Regions from separate parts of the Homo sapiens genome. Here region 2 is linked to region 1. The links are contacts of gene promoters, found by promoter capture Hi-C in blood cells and fetal thymus (Javierre and others, 2016). All regions are on one chromosome and are shown on one strand. The core of a region is centred on a gene start or on the middle of the fragment in contact, and the rest is flanking DNA. Distances in the headings are between cores, read along the strand shown. Region 1 overlaps SDR42E2 (short chain dehydrogenase/reductase family 42E, member 2). Region 2 holds the start of METTL9 (methyltransferase 9, His-X-His N1(pi)-histidine).

Region 1 (6,074 bases), core at 1,746-4,245:
CACCCTCCTCTGCTCTTTGGAATGAGACAAAGCCCCAGTTTTCGTCATCTATAAAAGGAGAGTAATAAACCCTATTTAAGAGTAGCTGTAAGAATTAAATAAGATCACATAGATGAAAGCTCTTTTACACTGTCAAGCATTAAACAGACATAGGATTATTATTCTTTCAAAAATTATATACACACATAAAATTCAGCCTAGCAGAGAGGAGCATACATTTTTTTTTAGCTCCTTCCCAAACTGCTCACCTTGTTCAGCAGAGTGGGACACACACTGCGGTGGCCATGTTGGTTCTGATGAGCCCTTTCGATCCCATCCACCTCAGGCTTGTGGTGCTTTTCTTCTCTGCCAGTCCCACGTGTGCATATTATGATCTATACATGGTTGTATTTACACACTGATGTCTTGGTACTTACAACTGATAACTGATACCAAGATGATAGGAGGCGAAGTTTCTGTGGAGAGCAGGGCTAGATAAAGAAGTTTCGTGACCTTAAACTTTAAAGATTATGGTGATTACCACTACCTCTAATTAATAAATAGAAACAGTACTAAATCATAAAATATAACCAACTAAACTCTATTTTTCCCATTATAGCTTTATTGGTACTTCATCGAGACATCCAATTATTTTAAGAGTTTTTTTTTTTAAATTTTTCATGCTCTTTCTGGTACTAAAACCTGTGCTTACTATGCTGTCATCCTCAGACAGGAACCCAAAAAGGCCAAGTCGGGCTCGGCAGAAGCTTGAGTCTCGGTTTTTCCCCAAACCCTGGCTGTCAACACACAGATCTGTGTGAATGAGAAGCCCAGAACATTGGGTCGGGGTGGATCGAATGCAATGTTACCAGACAGAGCAGCAGCCGACGGCGCAAACTCATACCAACGTCACCCGAGCCTGCGTTAGCCCATAGCGACGCGGCAGCCTGGTTCCGGGGAGAACCTACCCGGGAGGCGGAGCTGGAAAGGGGTGAAGCCAGAGAGGGAGGGGGCGGGGCCAGGACTCAATTACACGCGAGAAGGGCGGGACCGGGTCCAGAGGCAGGAGCAAGGACAGACCCAAAAGGAGAAGCCAAAGGGTGGGCTCAAGCGCGCGGGGAGGACCAGAAAGGGGGCGAAACCAGAATGAGGGAGAATCTGGGGGTGGGCCGGGACTGGGCAGGGACTAGGAGAAGGTCCAGAAGGCGGAGGAAGCTGTGAGCCTTGGCCCATATCAGAAACCGGACAGGCCGGAGGGAGGAAAAAAGGGGCAGGGCCAGGGCCTGGAGGGAGGGTCATGGACGTAGGAAAGATTCAGGGGGCGGGACAGAGGCGTGACCAGGACTCAGAAGGCGTGCCCAAACATGGAAGGGCGGGAAGGGGCGTGGCTATGACATGAAGGCGGGGTTAGGCCTGGAGAGCGGCTCAGGACTAGGCTCTGAAGTCAGGGGGCGGGGAAGAGGCGTGCCCAAGCCGTGAAGCAGGGGCGGGGTTATAAAACGGGGGCGGGGCTAGGTCTGGAGGTCTGCTCAGGGGCTAGGCCAGGAAATCAGTGAGCGGGGAAGAAGGCGTGCCCAATTTGAAGGGCGGGTCAAGGGCGTGGTCAAAACATGGAAAGAGACTCGGGGCTACGCGTCTGGGCCGACCAGGGACGTGGCCAGGATTCAGGGGGCGGAGCAGGAGCGTGCCCACTTCGGAGGGCGGGGCGGGACAGGACAGGGGCGGGGCCAAAACACAGGAAGGGCGCAAGGCAAGGTCTGGGAGTAGATAGGGGCGTGGCCAGAAGTCGGCGGTCCGGGCTAGGTCTGGAGAGCGGCTCGGGGGCGTGACCAGGATTCAAGGGGCGGAGCGGAGGCGCGCTCAAACCCAGAAGGCGGGGCAGGGGCTGGTACAAGCCCAGGGAGCCGGGCGTGGGCGAGGGTGCAGCGGGGCCGACCCTAGCGGGCGGCGGACGGCGGACGGTCACAGGCGCTCCACGGCGGCGTGCAGAGGCTGCAGGCCTAGGAAGTGCAGGGCCAGGGCGAGCAAGCCGAGGAACAGCAGCAGCCTGAGCAGCAGGCGCAGGAGGGTCCGCGCCGTGGAGCCGCGGGGCCGCCGGGTCGTGGACTGCACGTATAGCTCCACGGCGTCGGCGAACCTAAACTTATCCGGCGCGTAGCCGAGCTGGGCGCGGGCCTTGGCTATCTGGAAGGTGTGCGTCACGGCCACGCTGCGCACCTGCGGGGACAGGCGGGGCATCCGAGGGCGGGCCTCGTGGGAGGAGGACATCCTCTACTTCGTTGTTTACGGAAAGGGAAAAGAGAGGGCAGGGATTTCCCCTCCATTACATAGTGATTTAAAAGGACCCGAGTGCAGCGTCTTGCTCCTGCGATGCCCTCATTAGAGAGGTCTTCCTTTCTTCCTTACATGTTCATTTTTATTGGAGGGTGCCGCCTTTGCGTCGCCCCCTCCAGCCCCGCTGAATTCGCACCCTATTTAACTCCTTGGTCCCTAAGAAGCAAAGGTCTCACCCCTACACTCATCTTCCCGGCCTAGCACGGTGCTGGGACTCAGGAGGCCCTTGATACATTCTTAGGCATCCGCTAGGAGAAGGTGAACGCCTGCCAGAAACATCTGCAGGAAACGACCTTGGCTTCCTGCCCCCAACCCCAGACCAACTGTGACCAGGAGGGCCCCAGTCGCAGCCTTCATGCCCTCGCTTATTAACTAAGCTTCCCTAAGAGAGGAATTCGATTATGCAGAACTGATTGCTCTCCAGGGTCTAAGCTGTGTTTCCCCTGCTGCCAGATGGCTTGGGGCCCACTGGTTTGAAGGGTAGTAATGATAGCTATCAGCAGTTAAGGAACACACACCCTGCATTTGGCCTGGACTAAATCCTTTCTATGCCCTACCTCATTTAATCCTCTCAGGTGGTACTAGCACTATCTGTTCTGTGCATACTTGGAAAAAGGTCAGAGAGGTTGAGTGACTTGCCTGGGGTCGCACAGGGGAGCCAGGTTCTAGCCTAATTTCTTCTCTGCTGTGCTGGCACCTGGAGATGTTCTCCCACCTGACTCATTTCTTCCTCTCTTTTTCCTCAGCCGGACCCTGGGGAAGAATCCACCAGCTGCTGGATTCTCCCATGGCATTGAAACAGCCCCTGGGGTCAAACCTGTGGTCTTGGATGCTTAATGGGGGGTGAGGAGAGAGGCCAGTATTTGTCCCTTTTTTTCCTAGTCAGTAAGTGCAGGGCTTTGGGGAGCACAGGAGTTGAGTTACGCTAGATAAGCAGGGTCCCTAATACACCTAGATGTCTCTAGATGTCACCTCTGGGAAGCTTTCTCTGACTTCCTCAGAGTTGGCTGAGGCGCCCCTTCTGTGTGCACTGGAGTTTCTCGCGATTTTCCCAAGAATGGCTCTAATTACAGTGTTGAGTTGCCTGGTTAGTGGGCTGTCTTCCCCTTTGAACTAGGAGCTCCCTAAGGGCAAGGACTATGTCTTCTTGCCTCCGTTGCTCAGCACAGTGCCTGGTAACATTTATGTTAAATGCATAAAAGGCTATAAAGTCAAACTGGAGGGCTGGTTGATGTGTCACAGATTGACCAGCAGAGGGTACCCGAGCCACAGCCAAGGAACTTCCACAGTTAAGGACATTGCCCCTGAGCTGAACAAGGAAATCCCCAAGTTAAACAAGAGGGAGAGGAGCCAAGTCCCTGCCTGACCACAATTCAGCTGCACCCTGGCAGCTATTTTATGTGGATGTGATTCCTGATGCATTTTCACAAGCTAATGGTTAAGCTTGAAATCACTGAGGTCTGGGTTCAAATCCCAGCTCTACCATTTAAGTGAGTGATCACGGGCAGGTTATTTCACTGTGTGTCTCATTTCCTCCTCTCTAAATGGAGAGGACAATGTTGTCTACAACTCAGTTAAATGAGATAAAGCACAGTGCCTGGCATACTGTCACAACTCAAGAGATTGTCAGTATCATCTTATTCTCTCCTCCACTGATCCGGATGGCTCAAAGGAGAAGCCATAGGTGACTACTTCTTTCTGTGGCCCATTCTCCACTCTCCCCCTCTGACTCCCCTTGTTAAAGAGCACTGAACATGGAGTCTGAAGCCAATTCCAGTATGGTGTGGCCTTGGACAAATAATTTTCCTAGTGCTCAATTTTTCATCATAAAATGGAGATCACGATTTTTTTTTGACCTTTTTAACTTAGCAGGGCATCAGAGACAATAAAACGAGAGTGGACTGGAAGTAATTTTTTTTTTTTTTTTAGATGGAGTCTTGTGCTGTCACCCAGGCTGGAGTACAATGGTGTGGTCTCAGCACACTGCAACCTCCACCTTCCAGGTTCAAGCGACTCTTCTGCCTCAGCATCCCGAGTAGCTGGGACTACAGGTATGTGCCACCACACCCAGCTAATTTTTGTATTTTTAGTAGAGACAGGATTTCACTGCGTTGGCCAGGCTGGTCTCAAACTCCTGACCTCAGGTTATCCACCCGCCTCAGCCTCCCAAAGTGCTGGGAACAAGTGTGAGCCACCGTGCCCGACTGGACTGGAAGGATTTTTGCAAATAACCTCAAATACCACCGATTACTTTGCTATTTACAATCTGTGATGAAAACATCCTCTCTTTTAACTAAGCAAATATAAACCTGCATCATCATTATTATGAGAATAGTATTCTGAGCCAGGCATGGTGGTGCATGCCTGTAATCTCAGCTATTTAGAAGGCTGAGGGGGGAGAATCTTTTTTTTTTTTTTTGGTTTTTAGGGGCAGGATCTCCATCTGTTGCCTAGGCTGGAGTACAGTGGTGCAATCTGCAGCCTTGAACTCCTGGGCTCAAGTAATCCCCCACCTGAGCTGGGACTAAAGGCATGCACCACCTTGCCTGGCTAATTTTAAAATTTTTTGTAGAGATGAGGTCTTGCTATGTTGCCCAGGCTGGTCTCAAACTCCTGGCCTCAAGTGATCCTCCTGTCTCAGCCTCCCAAAGCACTGGGATTATAGGTGCGAGCCACCACACCTGGCCAAGAGGATCTCTTGAGCTCAGGAGTTTGAAACCAGCCTGGACAATATAGTGAGACCCTGTCTCATAAAAATAATTATATTCTGTATGTAGTAGGTACTTAATATATACTCATTATTCAGTAAGCATGAACTATGAGCCTAGGACCACCAGGCTGTTGTGTGTGTGTATGTATGTGTTGAGAGTTGGTGGGATTGGTAGCATTCAAAGAAGTGAATGGCCTGAAACTTGCCTTTGGGAACCTCCAGTCTGGCTGGAAAGACAAGATGCTTATGAATGAAGAAACAGTGATGATGGATAGGCTTGGAGCTGTCACATTTCAGACCCAGAAAGCACAGCCTCAGCAAAAGCCCAGAGGTTGGGGTGATCATAACAGAGCTAGCACCAGCTTTGGGCCCACATGGAAAGTTCTGAGACTTCAGACAAGCATGTGTCATCATGGTGTCAAAGGGGTAAGGAGTGGCAGCAGTGGGGATGGTGGGGAGAGGTAGGAAGGGAGGGATGGGGAGCAGGGCCTAGGTCCCATAACAGCAGCCCACTTACCTCACTACGAGTGAGCAGCGGTGGGAGGCTGCAGATGGGTCTCAGGGCCAGATGGAGGCGCTCCATAACTGCTGCTGCAGGGAAGGAGGGGGCCAGTGACCAGGGGCCTCACATTATGCAAACTCCAGGGAGGCCCTTGGGGACAAATCAATGGGGGACACCATTTGCTTTGCTAGAGGTCACTTTGCAGAAGTCACTGGATTCCTTTAAATCAGCAGCCCTTGCTGGGGTGCCTTGTTTAGCTGTGAAATATGTCACAAGTAACTTGTTTTTAATATTAAATGACCAGGCTGGGTGCAGTGGCTCAAGCCTGTAATCCCAGCACTTTGGGAGGCTGAGGCGGGCGGATTGCCTGAGATCAGGAGTTCGAGACCAGGCTGGTCAACATGGTGAAACCCTGTCTCTACTACAAATACAAAAATTAGCCGGGCGTGGTGGCACATGCCTGTAATCCCAGCTACTGGGGAGGCTGAGGCAGGAGAATCGCTTGTACCCAGGACGCAGAGATTGCAGTGAGCTGAGATTGCACCACTG
Region 2 (6,074 bases), core at 2,215-4,714, 590 kb after region 1:
TATGCTGCTATTGTAGCCAGGGAGCTCATAGACCACAGGTAAATGAATGTGGTAGTTCTCTTTCAATAAAACTTTATTTGTGGGCTGGGTGTAGTACCTCACGCCTGTAATCCCAGCACTTTGGGAGGCCCAGGAAGAAGGATCACTTGAGGTCAGGAGTTTGAGACCAGCCTAACCAACATAGTGAAACCCCATCTCTACTGAAAACTACAAAAATTATCTGGGCGTGGTGGTGTTCACCTGTAATCCCAGCTACTCGGGAGGCTGAGACATCAGAATTGCTTGAACCTGGGAGGCAGAGGTTGCAGTGAACCAAAATTGGGCCACTGCGCTCCAGCCTGGGTGACGAAGCGAGACTCCATCTCAAAAAAAAAACACTTTATTTGTAGACACTGAAATAAATTTGAATTCCATAAATGAAACTTCATGTATTACAAAATGTTATTTTGATATTTTCTTGGTAACCATTTAAAAATATAAAACTATTCTTATTTCATAGGCTGTAAAATAAGTCTGTGAGACCAGTCTGGCCTCCCAGCCACTTCCCTGCTCTAAGTGAAACCCTGCTTCTTGCTTGCCCAAAGTGAAACATAATCCCAGTTTTGAAGCTAGCACACCAAACCAAGTTACTAAAATGGCACTGCTACTACAGTTTTAGAGCAGCTTTAGCCCAAAGGAGCCTTGCCTCTCCAAACTATACTAACAAAATAGCCATTTTTAACGAATAAACATTGCCCAAGATCTCTCTTTTAACCACAGAATCCTCCATCATAATTCCTTAATAAAATAACCAGAAGGAACACTTTTGCTAAGTATGGTTCAATCAAATCCACAACCCTACTTTTATGCAACTCCAAAAGGCCCAGATGTGGCTGGCTATGGAACTCACACACCCAACTGAACACTTAGAAGACCTTGTATAAAACTATTAATCTGAAGGAGGAAAAACAGTTACAGTTACTTCACAAGCAACGAAGTTATAAGGCAAACCCAGGATCCTGGAATATTAAGTGGAAAACAAATTATCAACTCCAGCCACAGTGCAGAAAGGACAGTTTCCTACTTTATCTCATGGTGGTTTCTACACACCTTTCTTCTGTTCCTTTTAATCTTTATTCATGCACGATTATTTTCATAATATGAATGTATTCATGTCAAAATAATGTCTGGATTCATTATTCTAAGGAAAAGAGTTGACCCATCCCCCAAATATTCAGAAAACACCATATTAAGTCTTCACCCTAAAGAAATTATCTGCTGAATTGTTAGTGAAGGGGTACACACACACACACACACACACACACACACACAGAATATAAATACGGTATCTGAAATAAACGTATCTGAAACCAGTATTAGTTTTCATTAGAACTTAACAGATTCAGCTTTTAAAAGGTACAGTCAGAAAGTATCCTCTGCTGGGAGATATTCTGAGGCTATGTCTACAGCTGCAATTCCGCCTCCATACACATCACAGTGTTGAAATAGTGTTTCAATTTTAAAATAAGTGCAATTCTTTTATGAGCACTAAAAACCTACCAAGTGGCTGCAGTAGGGGTAATCATGATAAGTGTTATAAATACCAATAGCTAAGAGACTCAACCATAATCCCCCATCAATGGAGATAAATCGCTTTTTCTCCTATCCAGGACCTTATTTCTATCAACTGCTTAAAAATGTTAAAAATGACATTTCTAATTCATTGTCTACCCCATTGTTCCATATGTGACATTCTGGTAACTGTACAGTCAACGGTACAGTACCTTTGAGTTGTCTCTATAAGAATGAACTAGTGTAAGCAAATAATCCATAGGAATAAATGTGGTTTTGCAATTTAAGTTTACATACATTCCTAACCATATCATACAAGTGATCAATGATACTGATATTGCACCTAACAAACTGCAATGGCTGGAGGCTTTCAAAAAAATTTACAGAAATTTAGGATTCCTTTAACAATAGAAAAAAGCCCAATATACATATTACTAAAGACTAAATGCTACTTTTCTAAATTGCTCTATCTCCTTCTTAGACAATTCTCTACCCTCATTAAAACACATGAAATCAACCTGGGTGTAAATTCTCTGAACACCTGGCATAATAAAAAAGTAATGTAGGAAAATGAGAAATATATGAAAATGATGAGACACAAGATGATATAGGGAATAATTAATACTCTATGGAAAAGCAAAATGTATTATAAATGCTAGCTATGACAAGCCAACACTCTGGCAGAGTTCAAAAGCCTCTTTTCAATGAATTTAACATTAACTGCAAACTATGTTAAGGTCATATACGAAATATCTCACTTAATTCTACAGTTAACCTGTACACGTTTAAGTGGCGCAAGACTGAGCTAATGAAAAGCCTACCTACCCGGTCACAGCGTAACGCTCACGATGCATAACTAAAACTCCCTCCCGTCCCGTTCTGTTTTAAAAACCCTTCCTGTAAAACTTGCATAATCTTCCTCCTCATCACACACAATCTTTCTAGCAGGCTGACTAAATCCAAGTTTAAAGGAGATCTCTGCTAGGTAGGAGGGGAAGGTTCCGTAGGATGGGAGCGACAACCTGTCAAACCCATTTTTTAAGTGCTTAGGGAGAAATGTCACCCCAATCAGCCTGGAGAGTTCAATGGCTTGCGATGTACAGTTACATTTCTTCACGACCCTTTGTACGTTCTGGGATTCAACGAGACAACAAGAGGGGCTGGCTTTTCGTTTTGTTTCTCGGGGTAATGGATCTGGCCGGGTCTCTTCAGTCTCAGGCCTCGGTGCCAGGCGGGCGCCCCCAGCCACGCTCTGGCCCCAAAGTTCCCCAGTCCCGCTGCCGGGCGTCCGCAGTCACCGCCCGGGACCCAGGAACAATGCGGGGCTCCGGGCCGCTCACGATCGGGCCCGGGAGGCCATGCCCCGCCTGCGCTGCGGAACAAAAGGCGCTCGCGGGGCCGCGGCCGGGTGCCCGGGGCTCGCGGAGTCGACGCCCGGCGGGGAAGGCGCGGGGAAAACTTTCCAAGGGGCCGAGGCGGAGGGGCGAGGGCCGGGCCGCCCCCTCGCGGAGCCGTCCCGCACAATAGCCGGGCCCAGCGCGGGAAGGCCGGGCCGCCACGCCCCCGCCCCGGCCCCGGCCCCAGCCCGTACCTGGTGGTTCTCCTTCCTGCCGCCCGCGGCCGCCGCCGGCCCACCCGGGCCGCTAGTCATGTTCACGTACAGGGAGCGGGTGAGCGGGCTCCGCAGCGTCCACATCCTCCGCGCCAGCCACACGGACGCCAGGCTCAGGCACAGCCAGCCCGCCAGCAGTCTCATCGGGGGCCGCGGCCGCTCGCTCGGATCACCGCCGGCGCCGGGGCGAGGAGGAGGAGGCACCGCCGCCTCCGGCCACCGCCGCCACCGCCCGAGCTCGAGCCATCGCGGCCGCCTTGCCCATCCAGCCCCCTTCAGGGCAAAGGCTGGGGGTGGGGAGGAGCAGCCGGCGCGCAGCCTCGGCACCTCCCCCTTCCCTTCCGGCCGCGGAACGCCGCTGCCCCCTGCACCAGTTTCCATCCGGAGCACTTACGAGCGGCCGCGTCGCTTTCTCCCCCGGCGCCCTCCCTCCGTCCAATGAGCGGGCCGCTGGGAGGCGGGACAAAGGGAGCGCGCATCCGCCCGGAGCGCGTTCTCGTGTCCCGGCCCTGCCTTGGCCTCTAGTAAATGGCGGAGGTGGTTTTAATTTTTTTGAGGGCTGAGGAGATCACTTCCGAAGGCGGTAACTGCAGCCTCCCTGCCCCTCCAAGGTGGTGCTGGAAGGACCTCCAGTCTTTCCTCGCCTCATCCCACTCCACGGCGGGACTTTGACAGGGTTACCTCTCGACCCTCATCCCACTCCACGGCGGGACTTTGACAGGGTCGTGCAGTTAACCCCGGGGGCGCAAAGAGGGGAGTCATTCCTTTCGTGCATCCTGACACACACAGGTTCTTCCCGGAGACGAATGGTGCCAGTGATGGTTGCCCGCTCGGATGCGTAGTTTCCAGTTTACATTTAGAACCGACCTGCCAGACTCCCTCCTCTACTCTCCCCACCACCACGACCCGCCTGCCCCGTTCCCCAAGCCTGAGAAGTTGCTGGCTACGTGTTTCTATAAAGAATGAGTGAAAATTCTGCCTTTTGGGGAAGCTACCGCAGCTGGGGTACCCACAAGTAATGTTTTAGATGTATTGATGGCCCTGCCCAAGAATGAAGACCTCAAGTTAGACTCCTTGGCTGCCTTGTTTCCTTGAATTAGCACAGGGAAGTTGGACCCAACACTCTTAAGAGTGAACTCAGCTCTGGGAGCAGTGTTTAACCCGGATATTTATTTGATCATTTATAACACGAGGAGACCTAGCAACATTTCAGAACTGAAGGGTTAGTTACACTGTGTTCCTGTCTGCAGTTCTTCCTGCTATTATCCAAGCCACAATTAAGGAGTAACATTTCGTGGGAGTCCCTAACTTTAATACTTTCCTAGGTTTGTTTGGAAAGTGCTTTTAATTTAACTGCACCAGAAATAATGTAAATGTGTCTAAGTTCAAAACAAAAGAAGTAAGCCTTTTGGTTAATTCAGCGTTGCACATCAGAGATTTTCATTTATGAAACAGTGGGGTGGTGAGCCACAGATGGGGAACAAAATCATTCCTTACCCAACAGCTTTTTTTTTTTTTTTTTTTTGAAACGGAGTGGAGTCTCGCTCTGTCTCCAGGCTGGAGTGCAGTGGCTCGATCTCGGCTCACTTCAAACTCCGCCTCCCGGGTTCAAGCAATTCTTCTGCCTCAGCCTCCCGAGCAGCTGGGACTACGGGTGCGCGCCACCATGCCCAGCTAATTTTTGTGTTTTTCGTAGAGACGGGATTTCACCATGTTGGCCAGGATGGTCTCCATCTCTTGACCTCGTGATCCGCCTGCCTCGGCCTCCCAAAGTGCTGGGATTACAGGCGTGAGCCACCGCACCTGGCCCAACAGCTCTTTCATTAGCTTTTAAGAATCTCAGCTTGGCACCTTTGGCTAACAAGGATATCTTGTTGCCTAATGTAACAGGCTGTAACAACAAACAAAAAGGCACAGGGTGGGTGGGGTTCGGTATTTTGTGTTCTCTCTTTCCAATATACTCCCTGACTGCTTCCTGCCAAAACCCCGAAAAGCCCAAGCCTTACTAAATCTAGTTCAAACCTCTAGTGGTCCTGGCCCAAGTCATCAAAAAGGAACTATGGTAGCAAGTCCAATAACTGTTTATTTACTATGACACCTCTCCTTCCTGTCTCTTAGGATCAGTGTAACAGACAAAGCAACTCTGTCACAAAAGGAAGCCTTCATCTTTTTAAAGTGGGGGTGAAAGCAGCAGGAGTGCATAAAATGGCATATTTCCTTTCTGAAGACAAAGGAGACAAAAAGGTATGCCCCAGCTATAGAGTGAGACCACATAGCTGTAGCTGAGAGACTGCAAAATGTTATCAGATGAACAAGCAAGTAGATGGCTGCTGTAGTCAGAAGGATTTTGGGGTCAGTTGACTGCCACGAAGCCTAACAGCTCAAAGGAGCAGATTTTGTTTTATATCTGAGCAGCTGGCCTAGAAAAATAAATCACTCATACATTTAAAATACTCTATAATAACCACCAAACACTCAAACCCATGCTATTTACATTTAGCAGGCACAGGAAGAAACCAGAGCATCCGATGATCAAATGATTTGCCTGAAGGTAGCAGAGTAAATTCAATAGCTGACCTTTTCATAGAACTTGGTATCCCAGCTCGTGGTCTTTCGATCCATCTAAGAAGCTTTGCTGTCTCTTCTCAGAGAGCCTCCTGAATTACAAATGAGGAGAAACGAAAACAGCAAGAGTAAATATACGAAGCAGAAGTTCAGATTGCCCACTGGGGACAGCCCCCTTCCTTCATCTACTAGAATGTCACTACCGTATATTAAAACCTCAATTCTCCATAATGGAGACGGGAAGGGGCAAGATGACACAAAAAGCCAAATAGCCAATACTCGTTCTAACATGATCTTGAGATGCAGTTAGTAATATTCAAAAGATACACAAATGACCCTCTGCACC

Evidence for each region. The method cuts DNA at HindIII sites, captures the fragments that hold promoters and counts their contacts. A CHiCAGO score of 5 or more calls a contact.
Region 2: a contact is called between the fragment with the promoter of METTL9 here and a fragment that was not itself captured in region 1, in 12 of 17 cell types (fetal thymus, total CD4 T cells, naive CD4 T cells and 9 more). The highest score is 12.8, in fetal thymus.

The regions. Positions count from the first base shown.
Region 1 is chr16:22,186,261-22,192,334 of GRCh38, reverse strand. SDR42E2 (short chain dehydrogenase/reductase family 42E, member 2) reads right to left here. Exons shown (of 13, transcript NM_001394319.2): 12 at 5,541-5,614; 13 at 584-2,196. The coding sequence ends at 1,942. It overlaps LOC124903666 (a long non-coding RNA gene), which reads left to right and starts at 4,323. Exons shown (of 2, transcript XR_007065028.1): 1 at 4,323-4,364. RefSeq lists enhancers at 629-688, 1,189-1,268, 1,524-2,023 and silencers at 1,729-1,828, 1,969-2,018, 2,109-2,198. The HindIII fragment of the contact is 605 bases long and covers 2,693-3,297 here.
Region 2 is chr16:21,596,967-21,603,040 of GRCh38, reverse strand. METTL9 (methyltransferase 9, His-X-His N1(pi)-histidine) reads right to left here and starts at 3,464. Exons shown (of 5, transcript NM_016025.5): 1 at 3,143-3,464. The coding sequence starts at 3,307. LOC101927814 (a long non-coding RNA gene) reads left to right here and starts at 3,656. Exons shown (of 3, transcript NR_110930.1): 1 at 3,656-4,385; 2 at 5,282-5,407. RefSeq lists an enhancer at 2,185-2,749 and a silencer at 2,858-3,477. The HindIII fragment of the contact is 7,148 bases long and covers 1-5,795 here.